2 separate regions of the Homo sapiens genome follow, and region 2 is linked to region 1. Evidence: promoter capture Hi-C in 16 types of primary human blood cells and fetal thymus (Javierre and others, 2016). All regions are on one chromosome and are shown on one strand. Each heading gives the region's core, a stretch centred on a gene start or on the middle of the fragment in contact. The rest is flanking DNA. Distances are from core to core; before and after follow the strand shown.

Evidence for each region. The method cuts DNA at HindIII sites, captures the fragments that hold promoters and counts their contacts. A CHiCAGO score of 5 or more calls a contact.
Region 2: a fragment that was not itself captured here is called in contact with the fragment with the promoter of TLL1 in region 1 in 1 of 17 cell types (endothelial precursors); the score reaches 5.3 in endothelial precursors.

The regions. Positions count from the first base shown.
Region 1 is chr4:165,870,435-165,878,343 of GRCh38, reverse strand. TLL1 (tolloid like 1) reads right to left here and starts at 5,107. Exons shown (of 21, transcript NM_012464.5): 1 at 4,271-5,107. The coding sequence starts at 4,439. The HindIII fragment of the contact is 7,346 bases long and covers 1-6,049 here.
Region 2 is chr4:165,988,859-165,996,767 of GRCh38, reverse strand. It overlaps TLL1 (tolloid like 1), which reads right to left. Exons shown (of 21, transcript NM_012464.5): 2 at 7,277-7,387; 3 at 3,884-3,964; 4 at 2,235-2,387; 5 at 1,590-1,707. Among named protein-coding and RNA genes, the nearest start is that of TLL1, 120 kb to the right of the region's middle. The HindIII fragment of the contact is 1,252 bases long and covers 4,426-5,677 here.

The sequences.
Region 1 (7,909 bases), core at 3,858-6,357:
CTAAAACAGAAGAAACAGATTAGGAGAAGCAGCTCTATGAAATGCATTTTTAAATGAGAGTGCAGCAGTCTAGAGAGGCACCGACTAAGAAATAAATGTTTGCATATCTAAAATTATGATGGAATAAAGATATGGAAAAGAACATCAAATTCGAAAATGGCCAGTTCAGCTAGAAAGTACAACACTGAGGGCCAAAAGAATGAGGCAATGTTACCTAGAAATTATAAACTGAGGAAAATTATCACAAGGCCTAGCATACTAGGACACTGGGGCACTGACTATAAAGAAAAGCAGAAATAGTTTTCTAAAATGCCAAAAGCCTATTTCTAGGTTTTTGGACTTTCACTCAGGAGCTTCTAGGTAGAAAGTCTTTTGTCAGGTGTTCACAAATGTCTACAGAGAATAAGGATATTGTTCTGCAAAAACATCTTACTCCACCAATTCTATACCCCTCTACCCAAAATTAAAAATACTAATTTCTTCAATTTCTCCTATTAGATATTCTATTTACAATTGCCTGAGCTTTCTTAATATTCCCGTAAATACAAAAAAAGAAAAAAAAAAAAGAAAGAAGAAGGGAAAGAAGGGAAGGAAGTAAAAAAGCAAGGAATGGAAGGGAGGGAAGAAGAGAAGGAGAGAAGAGAAGGAAGGGTATGTGTTAATACGCAGTTCATCAGGTATCTGCTTTTCCATGTAATCTGTACACATATTTGGCAGAAGACTAACTTACAAACTAAATTTGCCCAGGCTCCTCACAGATATTAATACTCAGATTCACATTTATTTCTATAGTACAACAATGAAACAGGACACCTCAGTCTCTGCTCTGGAATGAGCTCTTGCAGCATCAGCTTCCCAGTGTCCCTTGGGAGCCTCCTGACCTAGAGAGTAAGAGAAACCTGATTGTATATTCAGATGATTGTGTACTGCACTGATGAAAGACAGACAGATATTCATTTGAATTATCTGTATCTTTGTGTATATCTACTTATATAGAGAAATAAAGTACCTATATTTTGTCCTAATGGATTTGGCTATGTAAATATATCCGCAGCTGTGCTGCACTGACTCACCTACTATCACTTATACCTATAATGTCTTTCTGAATAAAAATCCTATCAAATTAACACAAGGATTCCTTCCTACCCTATAGTTTCATGAACTTGAAATCAGAATTCTGATAGGTAAACAAATTGTATTCTATTTCACAAATGTGTTGAGGATAGTGTAACTTTTAAAGTTGTAATTCAGAAACAAATCTCATTGGGTAACACACGTTTGATCTTGTTTAGAAAAAAGTTTGTAAATGGCAGTATCAACAGTCTATAGATATCGAGAAGGTATTGAGAACATATTAAATTCCTAACAGTAGTAATCCATTCCTGTGATAAACATTACAAACCAGTTATGGTCTCTGTCCTCAAGGATTTGAGTTTCAAAAATATGAAGCTATGATCTTCGCTTCACCTATATCAGATATGCAAGCAATCGCATCTCTAGTAGTCTGGACTCCTGGTAAACCTGGACTAATTTCTATTGTTATCATCTCAATGAAAGCCTCCAAAAGGCCAACTAAGAATGCAGTGTAATTGTCAAATACAGCCAGACTTGCAGCCAGGAAACTTGGAATTGAGTTCTGAATAATCTTAATGAAGACATGTAACCTCACTGGGCCTCTGCTTTCCTATCTGTAAAATGGGAAGAGTAACAAACTCTACCATATTGAGCTGTTGTGAACACCAACACTCAAAAGTGCTTTAAAACCACGAAGCCATGATTGTCATTGTGATATCAAGCCTCTGTGTACTTTGAGGAATATGAAGACCCTATTAGAGGAGCTCAGAAAGGGCCTTTTATTTCATGGGCCATGCCCTCCAATCTGTTATTTGGAAAGGGCAGATCAAAGATGCCCCAAGTGTCTGGAAAGTACCTTCTCTTTTGCTTTTGCATGGCTTTCTTTCACAGACCCGTCCCCATCTTCCTTATTTCAGTGATTTTTTTTTTTGACTCTTGCTTGGGATTTCAATGTAGTATTTCATTTTTTTTCTGTTATTGGAACTTTGATTTGACTTTCCCAGTGGTAAAAAGGAGGCACTAAAATTTTGCCTGTATTGAGCCAAGATGGTAAATTGAAGCCTAAATTCAAAAGCAGGGTAGATAATTTTAAAAGGGATTCACATTCTGTGCATACTTCTTAGCCCTCCACTTAGGCCATTCTTATTTCCCTCTCATTACACACACACATGCATGCGTGTGAACACACACACAGGTGTGCACTGGTATGCCTCTTCTCAAAAACAGAGAAGAAATAAGATTAGGGTAATAATCCATTCAACGTTGGTTTTATTGTTGCTTTATTTTCAACAGCTATATTCAAAAATAAACCAGCATCAAAGGGGAAACAAAAAGTAAATGCTATTAAAGTTTTTTTTTTTCCTTGCCTAGATGTTTATTTGCTGAGGAAACTAAACACTAATGTCTGAGGTGTGTTTCAATACACATGGTGCAAATACTTATCTGCTTGAATCTTTCACAGAACAGGGTATCAAAGTAGATGTTTTCCTAGACAATCTTTTGAAATAATGTACTTCATCTCTACCTTACCACAAACAAGAAAACGCACAATTTTCAGCAAGTTACAACATTATTCAAAAGAAATTTCTTAGCAAAAAGTACATTTAAGGAGTTGCAGAGAACAGATTCTGAATGCCCAGCCACTAGTCACCCACCACAGCAATCAGCATCTCCTTGTCCAAACCATCCGGGGTGGCCCAAGAAACTTTCAGTGGGAAAATAGATACAGTTATTAAAAGTGACAGCAGGGAATTCATCAGCAAAACTGAATTAAATCAGAATTCTGAGTTCCAGCCTAACAGGCTCCTGCTAAGCTACTCTGGCTTTTAAATAAGTACCTGCATTTAAGGATGCACCGAGAAAGATGTGATAATGTGAACACAACACACATACCCTTTTTGTCAGAACAATGGGTCATCAAAGGTAAAAATTAACTAGGGAATTTCCAGCATTTTTCTTCATTGTGTACACCTCTCCTTCCTCCAGGCCCAAGAGAGGGTGAATAATGCTTATCTAGTTATGGAAGGGAAGAAAAGCTAGTCACAGAGCAACCCCGCACGGAATCTGCAGAACCCTAGATATATTTGACTTTGTCCACTCCCTTCCTCTGCGCTTCGCTAAAGCCCACACCTCTTGGGATGGAACCTAACGTGCCTTCCGCTTACAAACCGCTCTGCTAGGTTAGCCCCAACCACCATGCAACCTTTACGAAGTTACTTGTGCGTCCACACTGAGCGCGGATCACCTCAGCCACAGCCCAATAGAGCAAGGAACCAGGAGCTCCCGAAGCCCGGACACGAGCCGCGGCCAGTGCTGGGCGCCCTCAGGCGCTGCGCTCACGTGGTAGCGGCCCCGGGCACGTGCGCCTCCGACCTTAGGCGGCGAGAGGGAAGCGCCGCCCCGCGCGCGCGAGAGGCTGGCAGCGGCGCCAGAGGCGTAGAAGGGAGGGGAAGGACCTGGGACATTCAGGGACCCTGCGAGGCAAGAAGCTGAGCTTCAGGCAGTGCCGGTCCGACTGCATTTCCCTGGGGTGTTAGCTGGAAGGAAGACACAAATTTGAATGGGGTAGCAACTTAAAAACATTTTTCTTTTCAGTTTATTTTAAATGGGCAAATGCATCAGAATCCCATCTAGAAGTGAGTTCTTCCGAGATTGTCACAATCCCTTTCTAGCCTGGAACCCACACTTGAAATTCCTGGTAAAAGAGGGAGCCAAGGTGTCTCCAGGTAGCAATGCCATCCTCCTGTATCTTTTGGGGAACCCTGCCAACTCGCTCTCGAACAAGCGCTGGGAAACCGCGCCCTGGGGGAGAGGGGAAAGAAGACGGTGTCCCTTCCATATGCATAAAGCCCGCTGAGTGTTGGAATTTAAAACCTACAGCAGCAAGCTATATTTACGACTTGTTTCGTTTTGCTGGGGGAGGGGAGAGGGATCAGAAACTCTAGGACCTTATTCCCAAACTGGGAGATGGGAGCTTGGCAGTGGATCCCACTGGCACAGAACTCTAGTCAACTGGGGCCGCAGCGGCTGCCACTTGCGGGTGGGGAAGGGAAGGAAAAGGAGGGGGAGAGAAGGAGGGGCGGCGGAGGGGCTGACGCGGGAGGGAAGGAAACAGGTGAGCTCCCACCGCCACCCATGGGAAACCCAGCGCAGCGGCCCCCGGCGCGCCACCGTCCCAACCTGGAGAGCCACTTACCGGCTTTACACGGGTCCTTGTAATCTATAGTCTCTGTTTTATCCTCTTCGTTCCCATCAAAAGTGTAATCATAATCGAGGCCAGCGCAGACCCATAGCTCCCCGTAGAAAACAATCCCCGAGGCCACCAGCCACACGAGCATCCTCGGGGAAAGCGTTCCCAACCCCATCCTCCTCCCCCGGAGGAAAAGGAGGGGACGGGACCCAGAGGTTAGGCAGCCGCGGTCCGCGCTGATGTGCGGGGCTAGGGGCACCGGTGCTCTTCTCCCCACCCGGAGGCTCCTCGGCGGGACCGGGGTGCTCAGGTGTCCGGAAACATGTGGATGCCGCCGGGACAGTAGAGAGGGCAAGCACTGCCTGTTACCCCCAGTCGCAGGGAGAAGTTGGCTAGGGGCCCACGGGTGGGCGGAGGGCAGGTAAGGAACTCTGCACTCGGAGGCGGGGAGGGCGCAGGCAAACTCGGCTCTGGCGGCGCTGGCGCTCGCAGCCTGCCAGGTCGTCCTTCTGGCTGCCGAACTTCCCGCGGCCGCGGCTCGGCGAGCGGCGCCCCGCGGGCTCAGCTGCCACCAGAGCTCGGACTCCCGCGCCGCGTCCCCGCTGCTGCCAGGACTCCGCGGCCGAGCGCGAGCCGCCGCCGCCTGAGCCCAAAGCCGCCGCCGCAGCTCCGAGAAGATGAATCCGGTCTGCACATCAGCACATCTGAATTGAAAGGGGAGACCGAGGAAGGGGGTGGGGGCCAGGCATTTCTACGCCGCGAGACCTTAAAAGCCTGCAGAAGCCAGCAAAGCAACTGACTGCAAGAGAGCAAAAGTGTGAGGATTTGGGGATGCACTGTTTGCCTTCCCCCCGCCAGCCTGTCTTTTTACCCTCTTCCTAACTTGAAAAAAAAAAATATTCGCACCATCTAACCCAATCACTTGCATCCTGCTTACTTATTCATACAATCAGGGTCAGGATCCGGACCACAGCCTCCTCTCTTGACTTCTTTTGATAGCCTTAGACAAACAAACAGACAGGAGCGCGCTGACAATTCCATTTATATTTTACCAAAGATAAAAATGAATATATTATGTATCTGTGTACGCAAACAGCAATTAATAGATGATGTACGTGTCAGTTGAGAGTGCCAGACCGGGGGTGGAGCGAAGGATCGTGATAACTTAGCTGCAAATCCATATTTCCCCTCCCCCCAAATAAACAGCGAGTGTGTATTTCTTTCCTTTGCTGCTGTTTAACCTTAGAGCAGCGCAGGAATGGAGGAAAAGTGTGCGAGTCTTCACGATTTTGGTAAGAAAATAAACAGACTACTGTTGGTCTCCTAACCAACAAAGTTTTGCTAAGAACTAAGATCCTCAGAACTGCAATTAAAAAAAAAATCCAAAATCGAGTTACAGATTGCAGCAGCAGGAAACGCTGAGACCTTGCCGATGGGCTGGCGCTATGGCTCACGTGGGCGCAGGAAGGGAAGCTGGATGGAATACTCGGGAAGCAAATTTTCTGTGACAGTTCTGGCGCCCATGAGCAGAGTTGCTCAGTATCCTTCGGCTTCAGTAATGTTTTACTTCTTCAGAGGAGAGGGTGTAAAACCTGGCAGGAGGGTCAGCGAGGTAAACCACATGTCAGCCGAGCAGACTCAAGACAAACACAGGTTGTGGGAAATTGGGGAGGAAAAAAATCAGAGGAAATCTCTGTAAAACCCCTGTTGTGAGCAATTCCGAGGTTTCCCCACATCTGCAAGTAGTTTCCAAAATAGGTGAGATGACTTCTCCCCCAACAAGCTTCCAAGGGACTGGTGATTGGGAGCTTTCCTTTTCCAACTAAATCTTTAAAACTGTCACTTTAGCAAGGACTTGTAAAAAAAAAAAAAGCCTTACATATTATTTGACTAGTGTTCCCCCTATCCAAGTTATCATCTAGAGGAATGTATGAAGGTAAACACACACACACACACACACACACACACACACACACACACACAACTTTGACAGATAAAGTCATCTTTGGTTTGGAGATTTTACTAGGTTTTATTCATGTTTGTTAGAGAAAAGTAAGAAGCCAATCTTGAAAAAGTACCAAGTATTTTCAACTTAAACTAAAAGTATAGGAAGGCTAGGTGGAACTGAACTGACCAAGTGTTCTTTGCAAAACTGGGTCTTTCTCAGAGGCCACTGCAATGATGGAGCTTCCCTTCCATAGATCTTAAGCTTTTAATGCCCAGGATACAGAGCAGAAGTAGATTTTTAAAAAGAACATGTTCAATAAGCAGGTAGAGGCGTTTGATTTTGAAATCTCTTGCTGAGTCATTCTCAAATTCTCTTACCCATCCAAAAAAAAAAAAGTTTGCATAATTAATAATAGTGTTGCCCTAGTGCAGAGCTCAACAAGAATATGTCCTGCTTAGCCCATCTGAAAGCCTAGAGAATGCATATGTCATCTAGAGGATTCCTGCTCTTGAGCTGCTGACAGTGTTCCCATTCCCTATCCCAAACCTTAAAAATGTCCCTTGTTAATCTAAATGCCTGCAAACATCTCCTTAGACTATTTTATCATGTGTAAATTTGCAAGAAGTTTTACCTGTGGTTTGCCTAAACATCACTTACTTTGCAGGAATAAATATGTTTTATTCATTTGTTCTGGGAAAAAAAGTACTGTATAGGGATAATAGCTTCATTATGTATAATGACACCTATTACTTTTAACATGTGTTTCATTATTTGGTTTTATAATTTTATGAATTTGTAGTCCAGAGAGTTAGAATGATTTTCATAGTAGAACTTCAAGTCAAAATACAGGAATGTTTCTTTACAGCTAATATACTTGCAGAGAATACCTACATCACAATACCCAGGCTTAATCCCTGATTTATTTTTAAATATTAAATCTAACTCTAGGTTGTAATAAGAAACTTCATTTTTTTAAACTAATTTTGTCTCTATAGTTGTTATGATTACAAACTAAAAATAGATTTTTCCTTGTCCATGAAAGAAACATAAATTTGCAAGAATATGTATGTGAGCAAGGAGTTGATTGCTGTGTCATAGTATAGCTGCAGACACGCAGTACGTGAATTCAATCTCCTCAGAAAGACAAAAAGGAGAAATTGATTCCCTTAGTAAGACATGTGCTGATGTTGCCCTGGCTTCTAGCTGACAAGCTCTCTTGATCACCATTGCCACCTACAACAGGACCCCATCACTCTCAGCAATAATAGGGAATGAAGCCAACCAAGAGTGCTGCAAAAGGCAAGCTCTATGCCAATTAGTATATCACGTTGGAAATACCAATTAAAATAAATTTCCCTTGTAGAAAATATCAATTAGACATGTACTCTTTCTAATCTAGATTTGTGCAAAGCTAGATGTGATCTTTTTGTGTTATAAGACCAAGTAATACATGAATGAATATATTTCCCTTTTGTCCCTTGTGAAAAAAAATACCCAGGGGATAAAAGGAGCTTTCCTTCTGCAATGGATTCCGGATTATAATCTGAATAGGGGCCCCTAAACAGAATCTCTGGTTATTCTTTAATAGTTTACTGTACTAGTCTTTCTCTCTACCATGCCCTCACTGGCCCTCACTGTGGGGAACAGAGATGTCCTTTGTTTTTATGGCTTTTAGCTACTCCAGACCATTTAACTCT
Region 2 (7,909 bases), core at 3,802-6,301, 120 kb before region 1:
TTTTCACATTTCTAAAATAATTGAAATACATGTCCTTAAATATCCCCTGAAAGTCTCACAATCTTCTAACGTAAAAGAAAAATTCTTAACATTCTTTTATTGTGTGTGAGGAATATGCACAATGTACTTACATAATGTTTGTTTGTTTGTTTGTTTATTTATTTATTTTGAGATGGAGTCTTCCTCTGTTGCACAGGCTGGAGTGCAGTGGCGTAATCTCGGCTCACTGCAACCTCTGCCTCCCAGGTTCCAGCTATTCTCCTGCCTTAGCCTCCTGATTACAGGTGCGCGCCAACACACCTGGCTAATTTTTGTATTTTTAGTAGAGACAGGGTTTCACCATATTGGCCAGACTGGTCTCGAACTCCTGACCTCAAGTTATCCATCTGCCTCGGCCTCTTAAAGTGCTGGGATTACAGGCGTGAGCCACCGTGCCCGGCTCCTTAGTTGATGTTTAAATTGTCAGTACTTTCTTGATCGCCTACGTGTAAAGTAGTGGGCTGGGTATCATGAGGGACACAGAGGTAACTTAACCATCCTCATCATTGAGAAAGACAGACATTTGGATAAACTGTGGTAATATTATGATTACAGCTATGGGTAGGAGCAAAATCCCAATGTGGGCAGCTCAGGAATGGGTAAGAATGAAAGATGTGAAAGATTTCCACTGATAAGAAAAGGAAGGTAAAGGCATTCCAAGCATCAAAACTATCATGAGCAAAAACATGAAGATGTGATAGTGAATGAGGAAAAACAGTTTGGCAGGATAAAACACGTGAAATGGGAGATTATTAAAAAAAGATAATTTATATAAATATAAATTTATTGAAAACAGATATTAGGCAATAAAATAATAAGTGATCAGAACTTTGGATGTGTTTTACAAAATTGATATGTGGGAAGGAGGAAAGATGTACTGATCTGAATAGATTATGGATTTAGAAATATGCAAGATGAGTTTATATCCTTTCCTATTAGATAAGCAGAAAGATACAAGGATAGCCTAGATTTGTATCTCTTAAATATTAAATAGATAAGATGGAGGAAGTATTTCAAATGTAACCAAAACATATCAAGCCAAAGTTAATTTAGAAGGAAACACTGCTGAATAAGTCATAACTAAAAATTTATGGAACTATCCAAAAATATCTAGGTTAATGATGTATAAACAGACCAGGTGTGAGATGATAAATACGTGAATGAACTAGGGCATTGACATGGAATAGAAGTTGAAATCAAAAGATACAGTGACTATCAATAAAAACTTACTGCACTATTTTAGAGACAACACAACAGAATCCCTAGTTGACTATACTGAAGTTTCTAGCTCAGGTGAGTGGGATGTTGGTAATGTCATTGTTAGAAAGTAACTGAGGTGGTAGAAAAGAATACACTTGCAGTAGATGCACAGAGGACTGTGATCAAAGAATACACATACCTAGTATATAATATTTTTATGGAAAATCCAGACTTTCTCATGGCCAAAATACAAAGCAAATCTTAAGAAATAAATCTTACCTATGGACATTTAATTGTTTTCCTTTTAATTTTTTTTTTCCTTAAGTCAGTCCCTACCTAGTTCTACTTACCCACAAGGCCTATAGGTGAATACAATGTAACTCTCTTCATCACTTCTTTCTATGAAAGTCACACATGTGTGCTTTTCCCAGTGCCTCATGGCCTGCTTGAACATGGCTCTCTGGCTGCCTAGAAAAAATGTGTGATGTTAATGAAAAGGTGGCATCCCCAGGAAGAATGCTTCTTGCTGCATCCTCTACCCTAAGTCTGGCTGAGCAGTGCAGAATGCCACCACTATCATCAACCAAAGAATACTAGTTTATGGCACCACAAATGAGTCATTGTTAAGAACGGACACTCACTTTATAATCAGAGGGCTAAAGCTCACTATCTCTACAAATATGTGTCTACAAGGCTCTATAAATGAGGCATACATTCTTCCTGTCAGTTGAAAGAGATCAGCTTCCAAATTTAATAGGCACATCTGAAACTCTGTTTAAAAACCAGAACAGTGCTTTAAACTCTTAGAACACAATACCAAAGATATGCTTTCAATTTCAAAGACACTCTACACTAATAACCTAAGTTAATGAAGTAGTTTTCCAACCTTGACTTAATACTATGTATCTTATGTTAATATTCTATAAAAATAGACACTTAATCTGTATGATAGTTTTTATTTCTTTATGAAAACAGACATGCTGGGAGTATCTTACCAGTGAAGTTTCCTCCTATAACATAAGGAATAACGCCTCCAGGCCATATTCTTTCCGTTCTTGATGTAGCGGCTCTGGGAACTCGATTTTTCTCATTTTGCCCTGAGAATTGTAGAGGTACTTTTCCCTTAACTGTGTTGTTTTGCTCCAAGCCTGCAGTGACATTTAAAACATTCTGTGAAACAGAAGTTCTTGGTCAGGGAATCATTTACCTCTTAAAGGACAAAAGTTAAAATGTCTTATTTACATATTTTTTGTATAAATGCCAGAAGTCAAAATGCATTAAAGAAAAACTTCAGTTATATTACATACTTGAACAAAAGCATTAAAATATTGAAGTATTTCATGTCAAAATACTATATCTTAATGTTCTGTGAGTGAATTTTGTTGGATATCCATACAACAGCCTAAAGTGGATAGAAGTCAGTCAGGCTTATAGGCCACAGAAAATTTGTTTTCTGTTTCATGTCTTGCTAGTCACTATCAATTCACCAACAGTTAAAACAAATATTGTTTAATAAAGTCCCATGATATTTAAGATTCTTGTTACTCCTGCTAGTTTCCTAATCCTTCAAATCTGAACTGATATTCCACAGTACAGTCTAAAATTAAGAATACTATATTATACAGGTAGTAAATGAAGTAACATTAAGACAAATATGGTCTCAGCCTCCCGTACAACAAGCTATCTCCATTCCAGTTTCCTCAGTATTCATATTAAGGAATGCAGCATGATTTAGAGGTCAGTACACAACACGAACAAAATGCATTCTATTCTGGAGCAGCTTTCAAGTCTATAGTCTTTTCCTTTTCTTAATGGCCTTTCATAATATTTTTGTTGCTGTTTTTGTTTCTCCTAAATTTACATGATTATTCTTTCTTATCTATCACTGTCAATATGAATATCCTGCCACTGGTGTATACTTTGACACAACAAATAGGGACTCTGTCTCTAACATGTCTGTCTTTTCAATAGCCTGGAGCAAAGCACTTTTGCTTGGGAAAATTATTCCTTGGAAATATGTACTTCAAGCATTTAATTAGTAATCCATCAATTTAAGGAACGTTAGAATATGAGCTATGCATACAGGATTTTAAACAAACCTCTAAAATCTACAAATAATTTTTAATACATTCAATACTGTAAATATTAACTAATTATGAGCCAGAGGCATAATTAGTTCTGAATGTTTATATATATTTATAACTATTTTCTATTTTTTGAATGGTCAAAACATTTTAACTTTTTAAATCCGGTAATAAGTTTTTCATTTTACTTTAAGTAGATTTATTTCAAAACAAATAACCATGATATTTTTTCACTTGATTAAAATTGATCCAGGCTTTATAAAAATACCTTGGTGTGATGCTGAATTGCCTGGAAATAAGTATCAATAATAAAATAAACACCTGATACATGTTTAAATAAAGAGAAGCTTAAAATAAATTAAAGGAACATTTCAAATTATTCCAAATGAGTTCTAAAAGGCTTTGATCAGATATGAGCTAGCAAAATAAAAAGTTTTAGAATATATCATTTACATACTTCACATCATAATGGCACACTGATTTTAATAAACTGAACTGCTATGAGTATAATATTTACTGTACATCAAGTCAAGCGTCTGCAACTTTAAACATTGATATACCAAAGCCAATTCTTCTTATCCTGTCTATAAGTTGGTAGAGGGCCCCTCGCTTCTTTGACATAGCATGGTCTCCAAGTCCACCTTAAAGAATAAAAGGAAACAAGTTAAACTCAAAATATGTTAAAGTTCTTGCAAATAAAAAACAGTCATAGGCAACAATGATTTCTCTTTGGTCATTTTTTATGTGGTCTTAAAGTGTTGAAATTATGAATATCCATGAATCTTTGAAGGGGGTAAAAACTCTACAGCAACCAATGTTGGTAACTAAAATAAGGGGATGGGGAGACTCAGAGAGCAATGTAAATAACTTTATTTGGACATCATGACAATTGAGTCATCTATTGATAATTTGAAACATTTTTCTTTACTGTGACCTTGACATCACATAGTGCTACATAGAATGACAGCAAGTTGTTCTGCCCTGTTGATTGCATGCCAGCTATTTCCCCAGTGCAAACTGAATATTTTCGGAGGCCAAATCAGCAAATGGAAATAAAAACATTAGAAGAGCAAATGTGTAATGCATGTTTTCTTCCAAAGCTTCCATGAATTTCAAAAACTTTTTAAAGCATATCACATTTTAACAATATATTCAACTGCATTTTGAAAATTTAGTTGAATTTATAGAAATCAAAAACGTAATTTGGAAAAAGCCACAGGAATCCAAACGAATGTTCAGCTGCAAAATATATTCTGTTACGCTGTGTAATTTGAAAAATTTATAAAAAACAGAGTGTAAAAAAAGTCTGTAGTGCAAAAGGAATAGGAAACGGTAGGAATAAGGCAATATGTGTTCTTGCAATTTTACCAACAAAACCTAGAAAAGGTAGATTCCTGTCATAAGTCAGAAAGCATAGCATTTGGCAATAATTCAAGTCTCCAGATTTTCATTCCAGGGCTTTTATAAAATGCTACTCTCGGTTTTGTCACCTATTTTCTCTATTCTCCTTGAATTTTTATTAGACAAATAGGAAAAAGTTATCATTCAGCAAACAACCAATACAGCCACTAATGACATCTTAACAAGTGCCTATGAATTTGTAGTAACATGGAGTATCTATGGTTCATAGAGTATCTTTGGGCTAAGACAAAGAAAGCTATAATTCCACGACGACAACTTGAACTATTCACAAATCACTTGAACTATTTCCTTCCAATATCTATTTTTTTATTTAAAATTGTGATGCACCTAATTACCTAGACTGAAGCTAAAAAAAAATGATAAAATCTATTGCTATATAAGCCTCTTAAGGGAAAAATCAAATAAGTCCTTATAAGGCAAATAAGTTAGAGTGCTTGTTCACTGACTAATAATCTACTTAATTACTTCCATTACATGGCCACATTTTTGCTGTGCATCTTGAGAAACATTTTTGAAATTTTTTCATTGCACATTTTAGAAAGATGAGGTAATACTTAAATACATTCATTCCTAAGCAATTAGGAGAAACATTTTAAAAGTATGGCATCAATGATGTTTGAAATGACCATTATGTAACAACTATATTTATATTACATTGTTTGCAATTCAACTGAGTAGTGCAAGTTACTATTGAACTTTCAAACATGTACCTTCCACAGAAAAATTTAGAATAAGTGTTTTTATTATTATCAGTATGATCTGTTTTATTCTATGTCTAAAATAACACTATTTTTCTTCCAATTATTATGGTCTCAGAGTTTAACAATAAATAAAATTAAATTAAATAACAACATTTTAAAAATTTAAAATCACAGAAAATCAATGCCTTCAAAATAATGGGAGAAGGGAGGTCAAAGAAGTGATCTAAAGCTTAGAGCTAATGAAAATTTTAATAAAAGTTGGAAATGCAACTTATAATAACTCTAGCATTTTATTGTTGTATCATTGCTCTACTGTCCAGAATGCGTTGTCTCCATGACAGTGTTACAGGTGATATAGCAACTGGAGATTTGGCCAAGAAACATAATCTAGAGGGATACGCTATCTGTGGTGACACTGCACAGCAATATTAGCACCCATACTGATATATGTTTTAGAAAAGATTGTCACTATGCATAACAAACACCAAAGCACCCTATTTTTACATGGTGTTATTATTTTAGATGAATTCCTTAGGCTTTCTCTTACATACTCCCTACTTTAAATAAATTTTTATATCTGATAGTGGTATTTTGATTATATAGAATAATATCCTTATTCTTACAAAGTACATGCTAGACTACCTAATAATATTAAAGTGCGTTTTCTGCAGTTGACTTCAAATTTGTTTTAAACACACGTATGCATGTATGCACACACACACAACACACACACACATTCAGTGAAAATCATAAACTGTTAAAAACTGCTGAATCTAACAAGTAAGAATACCACTATTCTACAATCTAATAGGTAGAAATATTTCGATATATTTAAAACTGGTCATAGTAAAAAGTGGCAAAAAAAGTAAATTGGGCAAAGTAAAAAGTCACAGTAAAAAGTCTTAAGTCCATAATATATATGTGCATTTGATATCAGAAAGGACCACATATTGTACTTCCACAGAATAGGAGAAAATAAAAATACTAAAAAGGGAGAATGCAATGAAATCAAAAGCATGACATGAAATAAATATTTTAGCTATTAATATAATTAGAGAAAGAGATTTTAACTTTCTAACCTTGCAATTTTCTCCAGAATAATACACAGATAAAAATTTTACCAAGATACTACAAAGAATTTTGAAATTTTAATTTAAAAAATTGTTAAATGAGAACTGAAATAATCTTTTACATATATCAAGTTTCTTACAGGCATAATTCAAACATGTTTAAATCAACTAAAATTAAAATTGCCTTCTGGGGTTTTTACAAAAATTATATAGATATATAAATTTTCCAAATATTATTCCTATATAATTTCAAATACATTTCCTATATAATTTCTCTAAGAATAATTTACATTTTGCAACTCAATATCCAAATGAGAGGCAACTTAATATAATACTCAAGAGGACAAAATCAAGCTTTTTTCAGAATTGAATTCTGGTTCTGACATGGCCACTTCCTGATGATGTGACGATAAGAAAGCTGTATAGCCTTCTAAATCTCAATCTGCTGATTTCTAAAATCATAGTAATATTAGTAACTACCCTGAGGGGGTTGTCATGAAGATTCAGAGAATTAATACCTGCAAAGCACTTAAACCAGACCTAGTATGTAGCAAATACTACAACCTGTTTGGTAAAAAAAAAAAAAAATTAATAAAATGAAAACTATGAATAAAACCTGCATTTCTAAATATGTATATTTGTGTATAGGAAGTCAGAGTTGATCAACAGGAGATGAAAAATGATCCAAAAATATTTATAGCACTTCAAGAGTATATTTTCTCCAAAATAAAGACAAATTTTCTGAAACAATCAACCATACCTGTGGTATGTCCAAGGTTTCCAAAGGGGTTCTGCGTAAGGTCAATTGTCCTATCTATTTGAAAGATATTTAAGTCTTCATCATCTAAGGCAATATCGCCCCAAAATACAGCTAAAAAAAGAAAAGTTGAATTAAAATGTAAAATATTTCCGTGAAATCAATACACACAAAGCTAATTAGAAAAGCATTGTTAAAAATATGGAAACGTGGTCTGGATAGAGACAGATCTTTCAGAAAGTAATCATAACTGAATGCACTGGACCTGTTACAGGACAAATATTAGCTACCTGTAAAAGGGCATAACTCCATTTTTTTACATTGTTGCTTGTGGAGAGGGGGAAAGTAGTTTCCTTGAATAAGAAGGTTACTGATTATGGAGATTCTAAATAAAGAGAAATAGGCAATCATGAGCTAATTCGCAAATATCTGAAAATCGGATAAGAATGTCTGCATCTTCTGTGGATTCTTATGACCAGCAGCAGGTCTTCACTGAGAGGAAAAAGGAAAAGCAGTAACAACTAAACCATGTGATATTTTATAAACTAAGATAATTTTATAATGCAAGGTGCAATCAAGACAAAAGAATACCTAGTGCTATTGTAGCAATTCATTCACCACATTTCATACAATTTA